Linked DNA regions of Homo sapiens: region 1 is linked to region 2. The links are contacts of gene promoters, found by promoter capture Hi-C in human tissues and cell types (Jung and others, 2019). All regions are on one chromosome and are shown on one strand. The core of a region is centred on a gene start or on the middle of the fragment in contact, and the rest is flanking DNA. Distances in the headings are between cores, read along the strand shown. Region 1 overlaps SLCO1B3-SLCO1B7 (SLCO1B3-SLCO1B7 readthrough). Region 2 holds the start of SLCO1C1 (solute carrier organic anion transporter family member 1C1).

The links. Contacts are between HindIII fragments. The study calls those that stand out against the background at their distance.
Region 1: a fragment that was not itself captured here is called in contact with the fragment with the promoter of SLCO1C1 in region 2 in 2 of the 25 tissues and cell types used here (adrenal gland and psoas muscle).

Annotation. Positions count from the first base shown.
Region 1 is chr12:20,929,746-20,932,981 of GRCh38, forward strand. All of the region lies in intron 13 of SLCO1B3-SLCO1B7 (SLCO1B3-SLCO1B7 readthrough), which reads left to right. All of the region lies in intron 1 of LOC124902894 (putative solute carrier organic anion transporter family member 1B7), which reads left to right. Among named protein-coding and RNA genes, the nearest start is that of SLCO1B3-SLCO1B7, 120 kb to the left of the region's middle. The HindIII fragment of the contact is 3,901 bases long and covers 1-3,236 here.
Region 2 is chr12:20,693,253-20,696,838 of GRCh38, forward strand. It overlaps SLCO1C1 (solute carrier organic anion transporter family member 1C1), which reads left to right and starts at 2,080. Exons shown (of 15, transcript NM_017435.5): 1 at 2,080-2,555. The HindIII fragment of the contact is 14,433 bases long and covers 1-3,586 here.

The DNA.
Region 1 (3,236 bases), core at 573-3,072, 240 kb after region 2:
AGTTGCTGTTCTCATACCCCAGCCAGTACCAATGGAGCTGCCTAGAGATTATCTGTAATCTTCATATAGAGTGCATAGTGGGGCTACTGAAAGAATCAGCTGCAAGAAGCATAAAGCCCCTGATGTGTGCAGACTTCAGGGAATTCACACTTTCTTTTGTCCAGCCACATTTGGTATTTAGCAACTCATTAAACATTTCTAGCTGAATCATTTTACTTATACAGCACTGGTTGACTTCTGCTTCAAGTAAACAAGTGTTCAAATCCTATGTCTTCTTACAGGAGCCCATCTCTCTCTAGATTTCCAGTTAGCTGTTTGCCTGGTAAGCTCAACTCCTGATGGGTTCAAGAAAAGTTATGATTTGCATTTTATCCATCTTTTTCTATTGTAAGGGTGTGGGTGAGACATTCCTGCTCCCTGCATCTCTGATGGAAAGTGGAAGTCTCATTTTTATTTCTTTGATATAAAGGAAAATGTGCTTCAATTACCTTTATAAATTTTCAAGACCAATTTGAATATTGTGAGAGTACCTATTTCCCTTATCTGATTTTTCTTAATAGATTTTCTAATAATTCATATATTATGTATCTAGTAAACAAATAGTTTACCAAAACAAATAGTTTAATCCAGAGTGTAAGTAACTCTGGACTATTCTGTCAAAAGATTGATCCCTCATTCATTTTGTATTTATGATTTTGAATTATTTTCTTATATAAGCATTCCATTTAAGTTTTATAATGTTATGAGCCCAGGAGTTGGAGGTTACAAAAAACTATGATCATACCACTACACTCCTACCTGGGTGCTAGAGAGAGACCTTGTCTCCAAAAGAAAAAAATATATATAAGCTTAAAAATCCACAGCACATAGCCCTATCCCTGTTGGTGGAGATATTTCTTTTTCTTTTTTCTTTTCTTTTCTTTTCTTTTCTTTCCTTTCCTTTTCTTTTCTTTTCTTTCTTTCTTTCTTTCTTTTTCTTTCTTTTTATTATACTTTAAGTTCTAGGGTACATGTGCACAACATGCAGGTTTGTTACATATGTATACATGTGCCATGTTGGTGTGCTGCACCCATTAACTTGTCGTTTACATTAGGTATGTCTCCTAATGCTATCCCTCCCCCGTCCCCCCACCCCACGACAGGCCCGAGTGTGTGACGTTCCCCACCCTGTGTCCAAGTGTTCTCATTGTTCAACTGGTGGATATATTAAGTGCTGCCTTGGGTAACAACCCTCCAGCAGTGTCCCAGCTCTGCCACCTTTCCTGTGTTGTCTTTCTTCCCTAGACTTTTTCCCTCATGGTTGCAAGGTGGCTACTGCTCCCCAGGGCTAATATCCACAGTTCAGAATAGAGGAAAATGTCTCTCAGAAAGCTTTGTTGTTTTATTTCAGAAAGAAATCTCTTCCCAACTTGCAAGCCTCTGCCAAATATCTCATTGGCCTAAGCTGTAACCACTGAAGTATAGCCAGTAGCAAAGGAGACATTCTTATATTTGCTTCTGTTATTCCACCAATAAGGACTGGATTTTGTTCTTCCTCTTCATCAATCTAGAGTCATCATTTCTCACCAAGACCTGCATTAGAAGCTTAGGCACACAACTCTGATTAGTGACTCATCACATATGGATAGGGTTAGAAATTACCTAGTACTTTTCTTTGCTGCCCTCACTGCTGCAGTCATACCTATGTCAAAGTTACACTCCTCTCTTCCAATGATTTGAGCTCCTCTCTCTTGTTTCAAGGCTACCCTCATCTTGAATCTTGGTTATTTTTAATACACTCAAGAGATAAAATTCCAAACTTCATGTACCTAAAACTTAGTCCATAATTCTTCCCCCTAAACCTGTTCTACACAGTCTTTCTCTTCTCAGTTGCTTTCCTTTATATATGATGCATCCAATCATTTGGGAAATCATATTAGCCTGTAAAGAATCTGTACAAAGTCCTTCAATTAACTAGCCTGCTTTCTGCCCAGCTACCAGCTCAAACTCTGAACTGGCAACTCAGTTTTCCACCTCCAATCCAGCCTCCTTCTAAGTGCATTCTGTATTCCAGCTTCCTCCACTCTGTTGTATCCCTGCAGACATTCTCACTCCCTTTATAGCAGCAGTCCCCAACCTTTTTGGCACCGATTTTTCCACAAACCAGGGGTGGTGGGAGGAATGGTTTCAGATTGAAGCTGTTACACCTCAAATCATCAGGCATTAGTAAGATTCTTCTAAGGAATGCACAACCTAGATCGCTCACATGTGCAGTTCACAATAGGATTCGTGCTCCTGTGAGAATCTAATGCTGCCTGTGATCTGACAGGAGCAGAGCTCAGGCGGTAATGCTTGCTCACAGGCCACTCACCTCCTGCTGTGTGGCCAAGTTCCTAGCAGGCCACCAACCAGTACAAGTCTGTGGCCCAGGGTTGGGGACAACTGCTTATAGTACACATAAATAACCGTAGTGTTTTTACACTCAGTTTCCCTACCTTTCCTTCCTCCATTCTCTTTACCATTAGAGATTTACATCATTTTTATATATTGACTGTCATTTCAATAGGAGGCAGAATAAAAAGACAAATAGAAATATGTCTGTCCATTTTACTCTCTTGTACTAGAAGCCCTATGTTAATTTAGTAAGTCCTCTTCTACCTCTAAAATCCTTTCCTTTTTTATTTCATCCATAAGTTACAAATAATATGAGCATATTTAGTTTTTAATATATACCTTGATGACCTTCATGAAACCCAGTTTCATTACAGAAGCTACTTTTTAAACATTTCATTCTCTGAGATTATTTTTGGAAATTTAGTGTTTGTGTTCTAATAGGACACAATGGGTGGCATAAATGGTCTAAAGAGTCCTCCTGAATCTGGGAAAGCAGTCTTTTGACAATATGTGACACTACAAATGCCCTTTGAAGATGAGTTTTTCTAACATTGTTCTCTTATCCTTTGATGCAGACACTTGTCTTTTTTTTAAGTAAATATTTTTATGTTTAATTTTTGTTGGCACATAGTAAGTATATATGTATTTATGGGGTACAGAAGACATTTTGATAGAGGCATATTATGCATAATAATCATACCAGGGAATGTGGGGTATAATCACTACAAGCATTTATCCTTTCTTTGTATTAAAAACAATTCCATTTTACTCTTTCAGCTATTTTTAAATATTCAATAAATTACTGCTGACTATGGTAACCCTCTTATGCTATCAAATTCTAGGTCTTATTTATTACTTGTAAC
Region 2 (3,586 bases), core at 830-3,329:
CTCAGTGAGTTTAGTGGTTATAAATATAAAATAAGCCCTAAGGGCATGTTACTGAGTTGTTCTTCAATCACTTAAAACAGTGCGGATGCAAATACTAAGAAGAAAGAAAGTGGATTTATCTGAGGTGAGCTTTGCCTGGGAAGATCAATAAATTGAAAGAGAAACAGGAGAATTGAGGGTATACAGAAGGAAGTGATTAAAATAATTGCATGAAAAAATTCAAGTAAGGAGGAAAATGAAAATATGAGTGTACTGGCTTGAATTGTGTCTCCCAAAAAGATATGAGGAAGTCCTAACCCCCGGTACCTGTGAATGTCACCTTTCCTGAAAAGAGAGTCTTAGCAGACCTTATCAAGTTAAGATGAGGTCATGAGGGTGGTCCCCAGCCAAAGATGACTAGCGTTTTTTTAAGTACAGAGGACAGAGACATAAAGGGAGAAGATGGCCATGTGGTAACAGAAGCAGCTGTTGGAGTGATACACCTATAAAACAAGGAGTTCAGGCTGTCAGCAAACACCAGGAGGTGGAAGAGGTAAGGAGGATTCTTCCCTACAGGTCTCAGAGGGAGCATGGCTCTGCTGACACCTTGATTTTTGACTTCTGGCCTCCAAAAGTGTGAGACAATAAAGTTCTGTTTTAGGTCACTCAGCTTGTAGTACTTTGTTAGTGCAGTCTTAGGAAATGCATTCATTTATATGTTGTCTGTGGTTAATTTACCACCAGAATGGCAGAGGTGAGTGGTTGTGATAGAGATTGCATGGTCCTACAAAACCTAAAATATTTCTTATTTGTCCCTTTATAGAAGTTTGTTAACTCCCTCATCTAGAGTTTGGAAATGGGAATGAAAGGCTGAAGTAGGCTACAATCCAATGCAAGGTTGCACATAAGAAGCTCTGAATAAGTGTAAACATTATGTGCATTCAAAACAGTAACATTAACTGTGGACTCTGGAAATAAGAAAAGGAATCGTGTTGGAGAGTGAGACTGAGCCAGTTGGGAATAGACAAAATTACATTCTCAAGGGAGAATTTCATTTCTTGGTGAGGAAAATTATGCCCTTTGGGCTGGTAAATACTGTCTCCTCTTGAATAAAACAGTGGTCTGGCCACCTGTTAGACACTGAGAAGTCTAGACTAACACTCAATGTATTCGGATGTTTGCTCACTATTTCCGATGGAAAAGTCTGGTTTGATTGTTAAAGTAAAATATTTGGCCTTTCAGAGTGTGAAAACACCATTGCTTCATTGCAAGGTTTAATATAAACCCATTTTTCTTGCATTTTCTTTTCTTTCTTTTGTAGTAAAATGTGCTTGAATAATATTAACTATTCTGACCATTATGTGAACTAAATATATATATATATAAAATGATGATACCTTCCGCTCATTTGCAATGTGCTTTTGAATACATTATATAATTTAATCCTTAAAACAGCCCTATAAATCTGTTTTTTTTTTTTTTAAACAAAAAAATTCTGCTTTACAAAGGAAGAAGTTGAGACTCAGTAAAATTAAGTGACCATCCCAGAGTCTCAGCCACTTAAGAGTAGGGTGAATCTTGGATAATTCTGGTAGCAAATTTATTTATTGGTAGAAAATAAATGCAAACTACTACTGCTTAAGATCCTCTAAAGTTTTTCTCTTGGAAAAAGAATGTATTAGAATTGTGGACTTTCTCAGTGCAAGGATTTATTTATCCTTGGAATTAGGCAGAATAAACAATTGAATGCCAAAAATTCAACGTGTTTCTTTTCTGTTTTCAAAACTCATAGAAATTGTAAATATGAGCAACTGATCATGTCTCTGAGAATTAACTCTTTTTGTACAGAGCGCTGCAGAGCTTTGATTGTGACCTGATACTTGGTCCTTAAAGATTCTAGAACACCAATGGAAAAGAAAACCATGTAGCAAATTAGCCCAAGAACCGTTAAAGACAAAACAAAACAAACCAAAACCAAAACACACAAACAAAGAAAACACAAGGATCCCAGTGATGTCCCTAAGGAATAGTTGGCTTAAAAACTTTCTGGAAGGAGGAGGGGTCTCTGTTATAAACTTCCGCCCTCCTCTGGCTTCTGTTCCTTACCCTCTGCCCCCTGCGGAGTTGTGTTTTCTGGGAATCAGCAAGTAAGATCACAAGTGGTCTTTTCTTTTATTCACTCTCTCCCATAAAGAAAGCTTTATCACGTGTGGCCTTAAACTTGCAGCAAATTGCAAAGAAATGGCTCAAAAGCTTCAGCTCTTTCTGTGCCCTGGGAGCTGAGATGCACGTCAGTGGCCTTGCCAGCGTGGCCAATTCTCTGCTGACTGCCAGAAAAAAGAGGCCAGGAAGAAAGAGGAAAGAGAAGAGATCGCTCAGGGGTGAGACCATGCCCTTCATCTTTTCTTTTCCCTAATCTCCTCTGCTTGTGTCCACCCACACTCTCCCCACCTGGCAAAATTGTTCAAAATTGCTGTGGAGTTTACCTCAGTTTCCTCTTTCAGTCTGTGGTGTGTGGTCCATCCTCTTGCTGAGCACATTGAAAGGAACTGGCTATCTTTGATCTCTTCCTCCAGGTAAGACTTGGTTCTCTCATTTTATATTTTGTGACTAATACATCAGATTCTTATGGGAGATTAACCCTTAATTTCTGTGCGATTTATGTTTTATCCATAAAAATATCAGTGAAAGGTGATGATCCCCTCATTAGTTTGATGGAAATAAGAGAGAAGATTGGTTAAAGAAATCAGATAAACTCAAATTTGAGTTCAAATTTTGAGTCTCATGCTTATAAATTGTTTAGCTTTTGACAAGTCACTTAATTGCTTTGGGCCATCTAATTTAAAAAATGGAATTCTAATATTACGTTTGTTGGGTTGTTTTAAGGATTAGAAAAAGTACGTACATTACTCAACACAAAAATAGTACTTATTAAATCTGAATCTGACACAGATAATTTGTATTAGGTGAGAAATTAGTTTCTAAACAACACACACTCCTCTGCAGCAAGTGCCGTGAGGCTATTTTTTAGTTTGTCTGAAGGGAGGCATCCTGGTGTCCAGAAGTCAAGCCAGGACAGAGGTTTTCCTCACAGGAGATGGCCAAGAGAAGAGAGGGAGGAGCGTGGTTGCCTTTAGGACTTTCTCTGTGGCAGTCCTTGGGGACTGATTGCTGGACAGAGTCCGAGTCAGTTGCAGAGCAGAGGGGTTGAGTACATCTGCGGGATCTAACTACAACCTTCCTAAGCCACTTGCTCTCTCCATTTAAAATCTGGAGGGCTGATTTTGAAACTAATGAGGACTGATTATTCAATGTTTTTGAACCAAAGGAAGAGAAACTGCTTGGCTTGTTTTTCTTTGGCCTCCAGAATAAGTTATGCTCCAAACCCAGGGTATTGGATGAAAACTGTCGTATGTCTTTTCCTGGAAGAATCTATTCAAGTGGCCAGAGATCAATTAAGGATTTGCCAAATGCAAATAATTCTGAATAACTGTGTACTCTTGCTCTACTTCTGCAGTTGCAAATGAAGAGAGAGAGCCTGCAGGCCCCAAGGATCTTTCCGTTCATGTCATTGAGCTTCCTTCCCTCTCTTTTTACAGGGGATGAA